Regions from separate parts of the Homo sapiens genome. Here region 2 is linked to region 1. Evidence: promoter capture Hi-C in 16 types of primary human blood cells and fetal thymus (Javierre and others, 2016). All regions are on one chromosome and are shown on one strand. The core of a region is centred on a gene start or on the middle of the fragment in contact, and the rest is flanking DNA. Distances in the headings are between cores, read along the strand shown.

The links. Contacts are between HindIII fragments. The CHiCAGO score rates a contact against its expected background, and 5 or more counts as called.
Region 2: a fragment that was not itself captured here is called in contact with the fragment with the promoter of BEND2 in region 1 in 3 of 17 cell types (non-activated CD4 T cells, activated CD4 T cells and naive CD4 T cells); the score reaches 5.9 in non-activated CD4 T cells.

Annotation. Positions count from the first base shown.
Region 1 is chrX:18,219,449-18,222,148 of GRCh38, reverse strand. It overlaps BEND2 (BEN domain containing 2), which reads left to right and starts at 1,263. Exons shown (of 14, transcript NM_153346.5): 1 at 1,263-1,423. The coding sequence starts at 1,399. The HindIII fragment of the contact is 8,313 bases long and covers 1-2,063 here.
Region 2 is chrX:17,696,716-17,699,415 of GRCh38, reverse strand. All of the region lies in intron 3 of NHS (NHS actin remodeling regulator), which reads right to left. Among named protein-coding and RNA genes, the nearest start is that of SCML1, 39 kb to the left of the region's middle. The HindIII fragment of the contact is 828 bases long and covers 1,006-1,833 here.

The DNA of each region.
Region 1 (2,700 bases), core at 14-2,513:
TGGATCCCAAATTCCAGGCACTGGGTGCTTTCTATTTTATAACATTTAATTCTTAGAATCTTGTGAGGGAGGTGGTGTTCAAATATAAATAAGACATGGTGCTGTCCTCCAGGAACTTAGGAGAGAGGCATGTTGACGAGGATTTATAATGTCAGGCAAAGTAATTTAAATACTAATAGGGACGTGAAGATTACCTGCTGTGGGATCCTTCTTACCAGGGGGCTATAGGAAAGTGTCTTGATGGAGGTATTATTCGAACAGATGTAGTACCGAGAGAGGTTTTGAAAGATGTGAAGACAATAGTAAAGACATGGAATCAATCTAGGTGCCCATCAATGGTGGACTGAATAAAGAAAATGTGGTACATATACACCATGGAATACTATGCAGCCATAACAAAGAACAAAACCATGTCCTTTGCAGCAGCATGTACACAGCTGGAGGCCTTTCTCATAAGTGAATTAACACAGAAACAGAAAACCACATACCGAATCTTCTCACTTGTAAGCAGGAGCTTAAAGATCCGGTACACAGGGACACAAAGATGGAAACAATACACTGCAGACTACTAGAGGGGGCAGGAAGGAGGGGAGGGGTTGCTAGGTATTTATTAGGGGCACATTTTCAAAGTTGGCTTGTTTTCGGATTTGTTCCCAAAGCCGGTATCGGATATGAGGAAGCAACCTGGAAAACACTAGAGGGTCTGAACGAGGAGGAAGAGAAACACGTAGGGTGTTGGGAACAGAGGCGGAAGTTGGGAGATCCTGCGAAATCGGAGTCCCTTTGGAGTGGGGGAGGCCATCGAGGTGTGCGAGGGCCCGGCCCCCTTGCCGCGTGGTCGTTAAGAGGAAAGGCCCTGATTTGGCTGGTGGCGGATCGCCTCCCTCCCGGCTCTCCCCGAGTGCGGCAAAGGAAGGGCTGCCTTTGAGAGTCCCGCAGGAAGATTTAGAAAGTCTCTTACATTGGACTTTTTTTTTATGATGTGCGTTTTGGGACGAGCAGAATTACACTGTTGGCTTCCAGTTCATTATCTCTATCTCTATCTCTACTTCTGTATCTATATCTACATATATTCACACACACATATATAGTACAAATATATATATACATACATATGTATATTTTTGTAAAAGGGACTCTTTAAGAAAGTAGGTCAAAAGTGGGGGAGAGGGCGAGGCCCTTTGACCCCCAGGAGTCACGCACGCATGCCAAGCGCTACTGCGCAGCCGCGGAGACGTGGTCCAGGCTCCTGCCCGGGCCTCATTGTGCCTCGGACAACGAGTGTACGCAGTTACCACACAGTTACCAAGCAGTTACCTCAGAGCCGCGGCGCAGACGTAGGCCTCAGGTCTCGGGCCTCAGGTCTCGGGCCTCAGAGCCAGACCCCGCCATCTCACGATGTCAGAGAGGACCCAGGAACAGGGTAAAGTGACCTCGCCTCAACTGGCCCGCTAGCTTGGGCCTCAAGTTCTGTCAAGAGTCTGGATGGCACCCACTTAGGTGGCCATTCAGGGGCGGCAGGATTGGCTAGTCATTGACCGGGGCGTGTCGGGGGGCGGCCTCTGGGTATTGGCCATCTGCCGCCGATTGCTCAGCGCGCCGGTGGGAAATTTGGCGTGGTGGACCGAGATGGCCCAGGGTTCAGGTCGTCTCAGGGGCTCAAGATGTCCCGGAGACGTGAGGTGATCCTGAGGCTCATGGCGTCTCCGTGGCTCTTGGTGGCTCAGGGTTGGGGTGACTTGGGCTTGTGCCGAGAGTGCGTCAAGAGGCTGGGCCTGGTTGCCCTCTGGCCCGCGGTTCTTTCCGGAGCCTCGAGTGGCTGGGAAACAATCTCGGCGCTCGCGACGCCGGGCTCCGGCGATACAGATCTATGCGGCCGCACTTTTTCTTGAATTTATTGGTTTTCCCTGGTGGGCAGCCGCGGAACACAGCCCTGTTCAGCGTTTTGGCATAGCGGCTGGGGCACAGCCTCAAATTCCGGGTGTTCTGAGGGGGTGCTTTGGGTGGTACCCGCCGCCTCTCCCGGGGTGCCCGCGTGGGTTACATTTTGAGATTTCGAAGCTTATTAGATACTTGATGCTGACTTTCTGGGACGAGCTTATCCTTTTTCAGCTGTTCTCTTTTTGGTGAGGCGGGGTATGGGGGGGCGAGGAATGAGGAATGACTCAGACTTTCACAGAGGTTTTTTGTTGTTGTTTTTTGTTTTTGTTTTTGCTTGGTTTTGTTTTGTTTTGTTTTGTTTTCAGACAGAGTCTTGCTCTGGTGCCCAGGTGGGAGTGCAGGGGCGCCATGTCGGCTCACTGCAGCCTCCGCTTCCTGGATTCAAGCGGTCCTCTCACCTCAGCCTCCTGAGGAGCGGAGACTACAGGCGTGCACCACCACGCCCGGCTAATTTTTGTATTTTTTGTTGAGACGGGATTTCGTCATGTTGCCCACACTGGTCTCGAACTCCTGGGCTCAGGCAATGCTCCCGCCTCAGTCTCCCAAAGTGCTAGGATTACTGGCGTGAACCACCCCACTGGGTGAGAGCTTTGAGTCTAAAGAATTGACAAATTCCCGAGTTGATTTCCTGTCAGACATTTTGCGGTTGAGACATAGAGTCTGAGGCTTTGATGGTAACCGAGTTTGATTTAGAGACAGACTGTGCAGCTTCGCTGTTTTATTGTAAATACGTAAATGAGGAGGAAGAGAAACACGTAG
Region 2 (2,700 bases), core at 170-2,669, 520 kb after region 1:
ATGTTTTTATATATACTCTGGTCTCTTTCTGGACTTTGTGTTTTATTCTACTGATATATCTGTCTATTCATGTGCCAATACCACAATATTGTAATTATAGAGGCTTTAACTATATCTTAATGTCTGGTAGGGCTAGGTTTCCTTTTTCAGTGTTTTCCTGGCTAGTCTTATATGTTTGTTTTCCCATAAGTATCTAACTCCATAAAATAAAGCTTATTGGTATTTTTATTGAAATTGTGTTAAACTTATTAAGTAACTTAGAGAGAACTGATTTGTTTGTAGTGTTGAATCATTCTATCCAAGAACAGGGGATGTCTTTCTATTTGAAAAAGTCTAATGTTGTGTCTTTAAGGAGTGCTTTAAAGTTTTTCTCATATAAGTTTTACACATTTCTGGTAAATTAATTCCTAAGTATTTGGTCTTCTTTGTTATTGCTGTAAATGGGGTTTTCTCTAACATTAGATATATATACATACATATATACATATGTATGGAAACATTAGGGGCATTTCTAATTAAAAATAGATATTGAATTTTGTTTAAGGCTTAGCCAGTATCCAAGGAGCTAACCATATGGGTTTTCCCCTCCTAGATCTGTTAATATGATATATGATACTAATAGATTTCCTAATATTGAACCAACCTTCCATTCCTAGAATAAATCCCATTGGTCACAGTATATTAATCTCCTAATATAATATGATGTTATATTCTGTTTGCTAATGTTGAATTTAGTATTTTTGAATCAATAATCATGAGTGATATTGGTCTGACTGTCTTTATCAGTTCAGGTGTCAATGTTATACTTGCTCCATAAAAGAAATAATAGGGAAGTTTTGCTTCATTTTCAATGTTTGTAAACAATTTATAGAGCATTGGGAACATCTGGACTTTGAAGGTTTAGTAGAATTCCTCTGGGAAACCATCTAGGCCTGATGTTTTTTAGTGGCATGGCTCCTTAATAACTTCTTCTGGTTCTCCCATGGAAATCAGTCTGTTTAAGCTTACCAATTCTAATGACGCCAATTCTGGCAATTTTTACTCTTCTAGGAAATTATCCATTTCATCTAGGTTTTCAAATTTATTTGCACAGAGGTCTGCAAAATAGTCTCTTATAATTTTTAAAATTTCTTTTGTTTCAGTGGTATTTTTTCCTGTCATTGCTTATTTTATTTGTGTTTTCTCTCTCTTTTTCTTGGTCATGTTTTTTCAAATAATCAGGACCTAATTAATAAATAAAAATCTTGTGTGTGTTTAATGTATAGAGCATATAGTTGGATTTGCTTTGTGAGCCAAATTGAAAAGTTTTTAAATAGGCAAATTAAGCTCACTCATATTCATTGATATGACTAAACTCTGATAAATGTTATAATTATGTGTATTTTGTTATATTTGTTATGTTTCTTCCTCTGTAAGATGTGTTGTCTTCTCTGTTTATATAAAACAATTTTTTGGTATTTAGGAAGATTTGTATTTTTTTTTTTTTTGCTAGTAGTCTTCTTTTTTCTTATACCATTTTAATGTCCTTAGTCCTCTGTTTTATTATTCAAGCCTTTACTATCTGGTTAACTAGTTCTTATTGGTATCCTTTAACAGCCACTTATTGCCTAGACAGTGATCAATTAGCTTATTCTATTTTCTTCTTTACCTCTCCCTTCTCTCATTTTTAGTTGTATCATTCTCTGTTGTCACAACATTTAAAATTGCACCTTAGTTTTCTATCTTCATCTCCACTGTACTTTTAGTTTTAGATCTACATTTACATGTATTAAAATGTATGCTACCCATCCTTTTGCTGACATTTCCCCAATTATCCCTTGGTTGGATGAAGCTTGTCCTGTGGTAGATGCCTCATAAAGGACTCATGGGTGCAAAATTCTCTAAGTTCCTGTATGTTGAAAATTGCTTTTCTATACTTGATGAACAGCATGGTTGGACATAAAACCCTTGCTTCATATATTCTTTCATTGACCTTTTGCAATCACTCTATGTGGATCTGCTAATCTATCTCTTACTCATTTGTGTGGCTTTGGTGTGTTTCACAAGATCCCTAGTTTAATGGCACCATCTTCTGTCAGTTTGTTGAAGTTCAAATATTTTAGTGTATTTGTTTGTTTTGGTGGTGAGGCAGGAGTTGAAGGACACATACAACTCCTGCGTGTCCTTGAATTTTTTGGTTTTATTTTGTCTTGCAGGGTCCTAGAAATTTCCTTTTTGCCTCTTTTCTTCTTCACTCCCAATTGCTGAAGGGCAGATTTCCCTTCCTGTTTGTCTTTTGTCTCCCCCAGAAGCTTTATATAGAGAAAACTGCTCCTGTAAAATATGCATACTTTTAGGCCCTTTTTTGTAGTTTGTGTCTATCTGAAAAAATCTGTAGTATTTTTCAGACTTAGGGCAGACAATTTTTCTGGTGGTGGTTTTAGATCAATCTTAGGACCCACTGCTAGTTCATTTCTTCCATGTGGCTTTCTGAATCTGCCCTCCCTCACCTTGTAACAGGAGGAAATATGCTGAGACTTGGTGTTTTCTCTCTTTTACTTAACAGTCAATTTGATGTTTGGGAATTCTCTGTCCTCAAGTTATGCTGATGGTGTGTTTTTCTGTGTAGTTTTATTTTTCCCTTCTTGTTCTATATCATTTTTGGAGGAAATAATGGGAGATGGGGACCTAGGGTATCACCATTATAGTCAGCTACCTGGG